2 separate regions of the Homo sapiens genome follow, and region 2 is linked to region 1. Evidence: promoter capture Hi-C in human tissues and cell types (Jung and others, 2019). All regions are on one chromosome and are shown on one strand. Each heading gives the region's core, a stretch centred on a gene start or on the middle of the fragment in contact. The rest is flanking DNA. Distances are from core to core; before and after follow the strand shown.

What was found. The method cuts DNA at HindIII sites, captures the fragments that hold promoters and counts their contacts. A contact is called where the count stands out against the background at its distance.
Region 2: a contact is called between a fragment that was not itself captured here and the fragment with the promoter of OR9Q1 in region 1, in 1 of the 25 tissues and cell types used here (stomach).

The regions. Positions count from the first base shown.
Region 1 is chr11:58,021,246-58,026,816 of GRCh38, forward strand. It overlaps OR9Q1 (olfactory receptor family 9 subfamily Q member 1), which reads left to right and starts at 2,636. Exons shown (of 3, transcript NM_001005212.4): 1 at 2,636-2,859. LOC107984331 (a long non-coding RNA gene) reads right to left here and starts at 3,174. Exons shown (of 3, transcript XR_001748218.1): 1 at 2,842-3,174; 2 at 1,595-1,779. It also overlaps the pseudogene RNU6-899P. The HindIII fragment of the contact is 7,062 bases long and covers 1-5,571 here.
Region 2 is chr11:59,477,225-59,483,099 of GRCh38, forward strand. It overlaps OR4D10 (olfactory receptor family 4 subfamily D member 10), which reads left to right. Exons shown (of 3, transcript NM_001004705.2): 3 at 38-2,137. The coding sequence starts at 206. The coding sequence ends at 1,141. Among named protein-coding and RNA genes, the nearest start is that of OR4D10, 6.8 kb to the left of the region's middle. The HindIII fragment of the contact is 4,232 bases long and covers 1,724-5,875 here.

The sequences.
Region 1 (5,571 bases), core at 1,386-3,885:
GATAGGGGGCAGGTAGGTGGATGGTGATATCTGACCCACTCTATTGAGGAAGGCCTCACTGCATCTGTGATAAATCTGAACTCTATAGATTTCGTGTCACCATATTCTAGAGTAGTTTGGAGTCAGAGACCTTGGCAAAGAGTCTAGCTGTCACGGAATCTTCCCTGGTTGGCCCCTCATCCTCCACTCTGAGGCATCCGTCGTCCTAATCTACAGATTTGGAACTCCCACGTAGCTTCTGCATACCCTCTGGGACAAAGTTTTTCATAATTTATTATTTTCTTTTCTTTGTTGTCTGAGAGCTTTAAACCTCCATGGAGAAATGGTCCCATGGGTCACCCCTGGGAGAGTTACAGGCACATACGTGGAGTATGAGGCATCTTATAGCCAGCTACAATTCTTGTTACTTCTCTTTCCAGTTCAGCCAGTGGCAGATCTGTGCCCTCTACCTTTGGTTCAGAGAAACTGTGCTCCTTGAATTTGGGGTCTCTGTTCTTCAGTGGGATTCAATAACCTGTCCTGGCCACCAGTTCCAAGGTTCTGGGCATGCTTGGCCTTGGTGTTTCACCCAGAGAAGACACTAGGAAACTAGAGAAGCAGTGGGAGGCAGGTACGTGGCTCCTCTAGAGGCCTATATCCAAAGAGCATGCAAGGCGTGGTGTATGGAAGGAATGTTATCAATCAAATGGATACCAAATCTAGAGGTATGATTCCTGACTTTGGTATAGCCCAATCTTTTCTTCAGAGTTTTCCCAGTTTGTAATCTCATTTTTTGTTGTTCAAAACCTCTTTTTTTTTTTTAAAAAAAATTATTTATTTTATTTATTTTTGAGTCAGAGTCTCATTCTGTCACCCAGGCTGGAGTGCAGTGGTGTGATATCGGCTCACTGCAACCTCCACCTCCTGGGTTCAAGCAATTCTGCCTCAGCCTCCTGAGTAGCTGGGATTACCATGTGTATGCCATCATGCCTGGCTAGTTTTGGTATTTTTAGTAGAGACAGGGTTTCACCATGTTGGCCAGGCTGGTCTCGAACTCCTGACCTCAAGTGATCCACCCACCTCGGCCTCCCAAAGTGCTGGGGTTACAGGTATGAGCCACCACACCCGGCCCAAAAGCTCTTTTACAGAGTCATTGTGGTTTTAAATATCAATTCAGTTTTCAAGTGAGAAAATGGAGGCACACAGAATTCAACTGATTTGCTTAAGCTCTTATAGAGTAGGGGTGCCGAGGGACTTTGTGGGGTTTTAGTTCTCCTTCATCTCCATCTGCCTCCTCAAGCCACCTCAAACCTACAATCTAAACAAAATCAATTTGCTTTTGTTATTCCAGGGCAGCTTCATGACCATTCCCAGAGTCCCACCAGATGGCCATTCCCATGCTGTCCCTTTATTGAAATTCTGTGGTCATCGCATAGTCCATAAGCAATAGAAGCAAAAGAGTAAGCAGGTTTTACCAGAGTGTACCTTTAAAGTTTCAAAGAACCCGCACATCCACTATCTCATCAATTCACAGAATGTTCTGAGAGACAACAAGAATAGATATTATTGCTGCCTAGAGATTAAGAGCTAGAAGCTCAGAAAGCTTGATTCTCACCTTGGTTCCTGTCTGCTATAGTGGACTCTCTGGCTTGGTTTGGGTCTGGGGTCTCTGTCACATATATGGCTGGAGAAGCCTCCCACTTATTTTCTTATACCTCAGTTTCCCATTTGTTCCCATCATAGGCAGACTATATGTCAGTAGCTTTGAGGAACAGATTGTATCTGCTCAGTATTGAAGTCCTGGAATAATGAGAGAAGCGCCCAGTTAATTGATCAGATTTTATTTTAGGAATATCACCCTCCCTGGGGAGGTGGTATGATGGAAAGATGGTGGGCTCTGGAGTCAGACTGGGCTGGATTCTCATCTGGACTCTGTCACTTACTAGCTGGTTGAAGCAGGGATTTTGAGAGCCCCACATACTAGGTCCTTTCCTCTTCCCAGCTACCTGGCAACTAAGCAAACCTAGGGCTTGGTGGAACAGAGTTTGAAAACAGCTGATAGAGTACAGCTTTCCGGGAAATTTAGAATTAAATTCTGTAGCTAAGAAAAAGAAATTATATGTAGAAATCAATTCAATTTGCCTCCCACCCAAGGCCATGAGAGCAGGCTGCTCCAGATATACAAGACATCATTCCTGCAGGCATTGTCAGTCTTGTAGTCCGTTGACAGTAATTGCATGGACAACACCCAAATTGATTGACTTTTCTGTAAGTATTGTTGAACTTCCTTTTCCTTAAATTTCCTTAAAAACAGGTAGCTAGAAATGGAAAGGAAACTAAGTACGCTGCCAACGTACAATCAGGAGCATGCAGCCACCCTTTTATTACATCAGTATATATTTATTGCATGTAGACTACATGTCAGTGACTTTGGCATTAGCAACACAGTAATGAACAAACAAACAAAGGCACTATCTTCAAGGAGCTTCCTTTTGTGTGTGTGTGTGTGTGTGTGTGCGTGATGTTATAGACAAACAAATAAATATCTACCAGATGGCAATGAAGCTGTGACCCAAAAAATCAAACTGAGAAGAGGGTCAGAGAGTGAAAGGAACTGCGTTTTCAGATAGGTGGTCAGAAAGGGCCTCTCTGTTAAGGTGGCCCTTGTGCAGGGAATTGAAGAAGTGCAGGAGGATGCCACACAGAGATGGTAGAGGGAGCGAAAGGAGCAAAGGCCCTAACTTTCCCTTAATGATGTCTCCTTCCATCTTTAGTCCAGCCCAGCAATGTACATGTTATCCTTCCCGTTTGAAGATGAAGACACTGAGGCTCAGAAAGATCAAACGCCTTTCCCAAACTCACAGCTACGGCCTGACGGAGGTAGGGTCAAATGCAGCTCCACTGATTTCAGAGACGGTGCTGTTAACACAGGGGGCTGTCTGCATGTTGGAAAGTGAGATGTGCTGTTGCTGTCACGTTGCAGTGGGAGTGGGGAAGCAGGCTGTGATGAGCTAGACCCAAGAGGAATCAGAGAGCAGGTCTCCGGGCTTCATCCTGGGCATCTCCTAGCCCCGCTGTCTGTCTCATAACACCCACCCACTGCGCCTGCTCACCTCGGTTTGTTGGCTGTTTTTTTTTGAAATCATTTCCTGGATCTTAGTAAGTTTATTTTCCAGTTCCTTTCACTTTTTGGGACTAGGCCCCCAGATGCCAGGTGGAGAGAACTGAAAGAGGGAGAAATCCAGCGTTTCTCACCAGGCTTGTCACGTAGCTACACAAGCAAATAGCTACAGGAACCAAGTTTCAATTTTCGTGCATGGGCCTCAAACTGTTTTTCCATATTTGTTAGGGAAAATCTTGGCCAGGGAGCACCGTCTTTTGAGGACACCAAATTGGGCCAAGTTCCTGTGCGGCCTTTCTCCTTATTTAGTGATTGCCCCGTGTGACCCTCTCCTCTCTGGCTGACCTCTTTTTTCCTGCATGGCACTTGGTGGATAAAGTTCCCTGAACCTTGGAGAGGAAGCGGATGCTGTTAATAGCCCTGGGAGTGTGACTGTGCTTTGCAGCTCACTGGAGCCTGTGGGATATTCCTCCAGCCTTGGCGGGGCTCCGAGCTGCAGGGAAATTAACCTCAGAGTCAGGGCAGGGAGCCAGGGTTGCAGGCACGTTGTCATTGGGTGAAATGAGATGGCAGAGGAAAATGGCACGGTGTGGAGGCTTTTTTTGTCAGAAGCTCTGGGGTTTGGCTCTTCTCTGTGCCATGTAGTTCTTTGATCTTGCCCAAGTTTACTTACTGTCTCTCTGAGCCTTCAGTGATTTCAATTGCGTGAAAACCAAGACAAATAACACCTCTATATCAAGAATAGTTCATAGGATCATAGTACAATATTGTGGGGATTAAGCCAGATGGTATCAGCCCATCAGAATCTAGCCCATGGGAGGGGCTCCGTAAATGACCCTTTCTTTTTGAGACGGAGTCTTGCCCTGTCGCCAGGCTGGAGTGCAGTGGCGCGATCTCAGCTCACTGCAACCTCCGCCTCCCGGGTTCAAGAGATTCTCCTGCCTCAGCCTCCTGAGTAGCTGGGGTGCCCGCCGTGCTACTATAGGGTGTGTCCTACAGGCGCACGCCACCATGACCAGCTACTTTTTGTATTTTTGGTAGAGACGGGGTTTCACCGTGTTGGCCAGGATGGTCTTGATTTCTTGACCTTGTGATCCGCCCGCTCAGCCTCCCAAGGTGTTGGGATTGCAGGCGTGAGCCACTGCGCCCGGCCTCCTTTCTCCCTTTTTGGAGAGAAGCTCATCTTCCTACCAACACATGACCCGAAGACGTGTTGGGGCAGGGGGGAAGAGGAGTAGAATTTGGATGCTCTGGAACTCTCGCTCAGAAAGAGTTTCTCATTAGACTTGTCTCTGATGACTTCAATGATTCCATCAGATATTCATTCCGTTGGGTTAGGCATTGCCTCCCATCTAGGTTGCTTTCATTTGATTTCAGTTAGAAGGTGGTGGAGCTGAGATTTGAAGGCATCAGGTGGTCTAATGCCTGAATGTAGCCTTAACCACTGTGCTCTCCTGACTCTCTCCGTGGACCTCACAACCTCTTCTAACAATTCCTCTGGGCATATTACCTACTTCCACCTGTCTCTCCCCTGGCTTGCTGGGGTGCCTCCCCCTCCCTCTACTGCACTTGGTTTTGTCAGTTAAGGATTGCCTTCTTTCCACCGTCCCCCACCCTCAGTGTGATTTAATTGGGAAATTGTTTCTTGATCTTACCTGTCCTGTCTTCCTTGTATGCCAACTTCACTGCCCCCTACTTTGTTCTACCAGACACATTGCAATTAGCTCATCACATCTCTGTTCTAACCCTTGAGTACTTCTCTATCTTTCCTAAAAGACACAGTTCTTAAAAGGCAGGACTTGCAACTCATTTTGGGTTAGAGGCCTGATGCCTGGTACCATGCCTAGAACTCAGGGTCTCCTTGATGAATGCTTGAATGAGGAACTGGCAGGCATAGAACTGTGAGTAAACCACTTCACTGAGTTAACAAATTAATAGGTTCAAAAATTTCCAGGAGTTAGATAGTTGTGAAATTCTGTCTCTCAACCTTTTTATTTTTTCCCAACTTTTATATTCAATGGTACATGTGCAGGCTTGTTAAAAATATGGAACATGGCTGGGCATGGTGGCTCATGCCTGTAATCCCAGCACTGTGGGAGGTCGAGGTGAGTGGATCATTTGAGGTCAGGAGTTCGAGACCAGCCTGGCCAATATGGTGAAACCGTGTCTCTATTAAAAATACAAAAATTAGCTGGATATGGTGATGCGTGCCTGAAATCCCAGCTACTTGGGAGGCTGAGGGAGGAGAATCACTTGAACCTAGGAGGCGGAGGTTGCAGTGAGCCGAGATTGCACCACTGCACTCCAGCCTGGGCAACAAAGCAAGACTCTGTAACCAAAAAAAAAAAAAAAAAAAAAAAAAAGATATGGAATGCTTCACAAATTTGTGTGTCATTCTTGTTCAGGGGCCATGCTAATCTTCTCCGTGTCATTCCAATTTTAGTATATATGATGCCGAAGTGAGTACTATC
Region 2 (5,875 bases), core at 2,590-5,089, 1.5 Mb after region 1:
AATGACTTTACATATGATAATTTGATTTTATCACCAGACTAACTGAAATCTGAAAAACGTGAACAATGCAACAAACTGCAAAAACTACAACCGCATGGGAAGTTTCTGCACTGCATTCTAGGTGTTTAGGAAGACAACAAAATAAATATCCCAGTGCTTTCACATGACATGGTTTAAAACCAAAGAGAATAAAGAGGATGATTGAATGGAGATGGAAAACTGCACCAGGGTAAAAGAATTTATTTTCCTTGGCCTGACCCAGAATCGGGAAGTGAGCTTAGTCTTATTTCTTTTCCTACTCTTGGTGTATGTGACAACTTTGCTGGGAAACCTCCTCATCATGGTCACTGTTACCTGTGAATCTCGCCTTCACACGCCCATGTATTTTTTGCTCCATAATTTATCTATTGCCGATATCTGCTTCTCTTCCATCACAGTGCCCAAGGTTCTGGTGGACCTTCTGTCTGAAAGAAAGACCATCTCCTTCAATCATTGCTTCACTCAGATGTTTCTATTCCACCTTATTGGAGGGGTGGATGTATTTTCTCTTTCGGTGATGGCATTGGATCGATATGTGGCCATCTCCAAGCCCCTGCACTATGCGACTATCATGAGTAGAGACCATTGCATTGGGCTCACAGTGGCTGCCTGGTTGGGGGGCTTTGTCCACTCCATCGTGCAGATTTCCCTGTTGCTCCCACTCCCTTTCTGCGGACCCAATGTTCTTGACACTTTCTACTGTGATGTCCACCGGGTCCTCAAACTGGCCCATACAGACATTTTCATACTTGAACTACTAATGATTTCCAACAATGGACTGCTCACCACACTGTGGTTTTTCCTGCTCCTGGTGTCCTACATAGTCATATTATCATTACCCAAGTCTCAGGCAGGAGAGGGCAGGAGGAAAGCCATCTCCACCTGCACCTCCCACATCACTGTGGTGACCCTGCATTTCGTGCCCTGCATCTATGTCTATGCCCGGCCCTTCACTGCCCTCCCCATGGATAAGGCCATCTCTGTCACCTTCACTGTCATCTCCCCTCTGCTCAACCCCTTGATCTACACTCTGAGGAACCATGAGATGAAGTCAGCCATGAGGAGACTGAAGAGAAGACTTGTGCCTTCTGATAGAAAATAGAAAAAAAAATCCTCAGCTCTTCATCACCAAAGATATCTTATATTTATTATTTTTCCCATGAAGTCATATTCATATATTCAAATATATTGTCAAACCAACTACACTTAGTAATAATTAATTTTTCTATTTATGTTAGTAAGTAACTGATAAGCTTCTGGTCAGGGAGAGATTCACACCTTCTAATTGAAAATAAACCAGAGCTCCCTCCTCTTTACCACCAAGATTTTGTTTCATGATTTTTCTTCCATGGACTCCAAGTTCTGAAAGTGTTGCCTGCTGAATTGAATATATTTATTTAGTGATTGCTAAGTATTTGTTTTATTTTCATAAGTAATACATAAAATTATATATATACCTAGCAAATGCATATTATATATAGTAAATCTTCTTATCTGCATTTAGTTGACATAAATATTAATAATTTAAACAGAGCCTTTGTGATTCAGAAAAGAGAGGGAAAATTGTTAGCAAATGTGTATATGATTTTGCAGTCCAATTTTAAAGAAAAATTAAGCCAAATGCACGCAGACATTATCATTACCTTTCTGCTCCTATTACAGTAAATGAAGGTGTGGGGTGTATCTGAAACACAATGGAGTTTGGGGATTGACTTTCTGTATAATTTTCATAAGGTAAACGTATCCTACATGATCCTTATGATGGGCAAGGTCATTACCTTGCCCTTTCTTGAACCCCAAGCTCACTGGCCACCCTACCGCATTTCCTTGGCACTCTGTGCTTAGGGTTAGCATTGCACTCAGGACTCTATTTTGAAATTTCCTATTTTCTTGTCTCTTTCTCTTACTGGGCAGTGACTTCCCCAGGAGCAGGGATTATGTTTTATTTACTGTCACAGCAGCTAAAACATACTAAGACTTCAACAATATGTTGCTGAATAAATAGCTCAATGATTGAATGTTTTCACTTACTTGATATACTCTGTGGCCTGTGAGTTTCTACAAATGACAAAAACACATTAAGCTACTTTAAGCTATGCATATACATATATAAAGCTTGGAAAAAAGTGAAAAATGATTATTTTACACATTGCTGCAATTATGTTTTTAGCTGTTCACTTAATATTTTTTATAGGGATCTGGAGTTCTTATTGAAACTGGAATTCTTTCTGTATCTGATACTAATATTGTCCCACAACCTAGACATGCAAGAAATGTAACGTTTTAAAATTTTATATAACTTGATTTCTATTTCAAGCTTCCATTCAGTTGTGGTGGCTGGAAATTTAATCTTTCATTACGAAGTTCCCTTAATGGTTTCTGAGTTCCAGGGAAAGAGAGTGGGAACTAGGGATAAAAGGTGATACATCATTATATAAAGGTAAATTCTTTCCTGAACCAATAGTGGCAGTGTTCATGAACTAAGTACAATTGTCTCTGCCTTTCATGTTCACAAGCAAAAAGAATCTGCTAACATATTTCTTACAGATTAAAGAAAAATGTGATTACCTCAGTAAATATAGAAAAGCACTTGATAATATTCAACACCAATTTATGGCCAAAACTCATAAATAAATAAAGAAAAGAAGCATTCTTTCTTAACCTAATAAAAAGTCAATATAAATATTATAACACAAATTATATGTTATGGTAAAATGGAAGCAATCCATTTAAGTGCTACCTTATATTCCCACTCCAATCAACACTCTACTTTTCACAACAGAGACACAGAAAACCTTTGAACTCAATTCCTGATGTAATTCAGGACATTGCACAATTAAATTATGTATCTGACTTCTATGAGGTCAGCCCTATGGCAATAAGAAATACATAAGTAGCTGAAGACTTGCATAAAAGCTCTCTGGGGCCAGGCATGGTGGCTCACACCTATAATCACAGCATTTTGGGAGGCCAAGGCAGGTGGATCATTTGAGGTCAAGAGTTTGAGACCAGCCTTGACAACATGGGGAAACCTTGTCTCTACTAAAAATACAAAAATTTGCCAGGACGTGGTGGCACATGCCTGTAATCCCAGCTACTCAGGAGGCTGAGGCACAAGAATCACTTCAGCCTGGGAAGCAGAAGCTGCAGTGAGCTGAGATCGTGCCACTAGACTCCAGCCTGGGTGACAAAGTGAGACTCTTAAAAAGAAAAAAAGAAAAAGCTCTCTGGTTCCCAGACTTCACCTTGAGCTGAGCATATAAACTGCTTGTCATTTCTTTAGTGTAATTTATTCAATGTAGTTAGGAGTAGCCACCCCTCCTCCACAGTCCCTGTAGTACTGACAAAGTCAATTACAGGAGTCACCTCATGATTCAAGCACTTGCTTCACTAAGAAAATTGTCACGGTCAATAACATGTGACAATTTGGTTAGTTATAATGCCTTTGTATGCCATGGATTGCCAGAATCTGATTTACCGTGGATAAGGAATTCAGCATGATGTTCATGACCAAGGACGTTTCAAGTAATCTCAGAATCTCACCTTTGAGAGTCTGCTTTTTGCTATCACTTCTGTTACCAAATACTTTACCAATCAGGGTCAAGTCAAGACAACAGAAGCCACATCAGTTATTTATCCAAAGATTTTTTATCACAAAAAAAAATTTAAATATAAAAGTAAAATGTATGGCAAAAAAAGAGTGGGAAAATAAATATACTGTTGTAAGGTTTATATTCATCATGAAGTGATATCATATGAAGGCCATCTGATGTGAGTTAAAGATGCATATTGTAGGCCCTAGAGTAATCACTATAGAATAAAACTGCAAGATACAGATAATAAGACAATAAATGAAATAAAATAAAAAACTAAAAACACTGAATTATCCCAAAGAAGGCAGAAAAATAATAAAAGGAAGCAAAAAATAAATGGGAAAAAAATTTTAAATAAAAGCAAAATGAGCCACGCACAGTGGCTCACTCCTGTAATCCCAACACTTTGAGAGGCTGAGGCGAGTGGATCACTGAAGCTCCGGAGTTTGAGACCACCCCTGGCCAACATAATAAAACCCAGTCTCTACCGAAAATACAAAATGTAGCTGGGCATGGTGGCGTGTACCTGTAATCCCAGCTACTTTGGAGGCTGAGGCAGGAGAATCGCTTGAACCTGGGAGGCAGAGGTAGCAGTGAGCTGAGATTGTACCACTGCACTCCAGCCTGAGTGAAAAAGTGAGACTCCATCTCAAAAAAAAAAAAGAAAAAAGAAAAAAAATCAAAATGGTAGCTGTAAGCACAACTGTATTCAAAACTACATTAAAGATTTCTCAATGTCGGAATAGGAGCTTACAAGCAACCAAGGTGGGAAGGTAAATATGAAGCACGTGATAATGGATTAGTGTTGGAGACATCAGTATGAAAGCATGTTTAGTGGCCAAGTGTGGTGGCTCACACCTGTAATCCCAGCACTTTGGGAGGCCAAGATAGAAAGACTGCTTGGGCCCAGGAGTTCAAGACCAGCCTGGACAACATGTTACTGGGGAGGGTGGAAGGGGAGTGAGGAGTAAAAGGCTACACATTGGGTACAGTGTACACTGCTCAAGTGATGACTGCACCAAAGTCTCATGTGGCCCAGGCACTGTTGTTCACACTTGTAATCCCAGCACTTTGGGAGGCCGAGGCAGGTGGATCACCTGAGGTCAGGAGTTCCAGACTACCCTGGCCAACCTTGTGAAACCCCATCTCTACCAAACATACAGAAATGAGCCGGGTGTGGTGGCACCCGCCTGTAATTCCAGCTACTGGGAGGCTGAAGCACGAGAATCACTTGAATCCAGGAGGAGGAGTTTGCAGTGAGCCAAGATCGTGCCACTGTACTACAGCCTGTGCGACAGAGGAAGACCCTGTCTCAAAAAAATTAAAAAAAAAAAAATGTATCCATGTAACCAAACGCCACCTGTTCCCCTCAAATCCTATTGAAATAAAATAAATAAATAAGAAAAACTTGTTTTACAAAGTGCATTTTATGGAGGTAGAGAGTAGAACGGTGGTTACCAGAGTCTGGAAGGGGAATGCGGGTGAGAGAACTAACTTGGTGAAGCGGTGCAAAAACACCGTTCTGTAGAGGAAATGAGTTCCAGTATTCAATAGGAAAGTATATTTATAATATAAATATTATAGTTACAAATAATTTATTTTATATTTCACAATAGCTAGAAGAGAAGATGTGTAATATTCCCAGCACAAAGAAAAGACAAATGTTTGAAGAGAGGGATATCCCAACTACCCTAATTTTGATTATTACACATTGTATGCAGGTATCAAAATATCTCATGTACCCCCAAAATATGTATAACAATTATATAGCAATAAGATTTTCTTAATTTTTAAAAATTAGTAAAATAGAAAATGTTGGGTAAAATTTACTGGGGAAGTCATCAGGTCCTGGACTCTTCCTTGCTGGAAGGTTTTTGATTACTGATTTAATCTGTTATTAGCCATTTCATATTTTCTATTTATTCATGATTCAGTCTTGACAGTTTGTGTGTTTCTAGGAATTTGTCCATTTCTTCTAGGTTATCCAAATTTTTAGCATATAAAAAGTTTATGGTATTCTCTTATAGTCCTTTGTATTTTTGTGGCATCAGTTATAATGTCTCCTCTTTGGTTTCTAATTTTATTTAATAAAGTATTCTATCTTTTTTTCTTAATCTAAAGTTTTGTCAATTTTATCTTTTTAAAAAAACCAATTCTTAGTTGTTTTTCTTGATATTAAAAACTGGTTTCTTGGCTGGGCACGGTGGCTCATGCCTATAATCCCAGCAGTTTGGGAGGCCGAG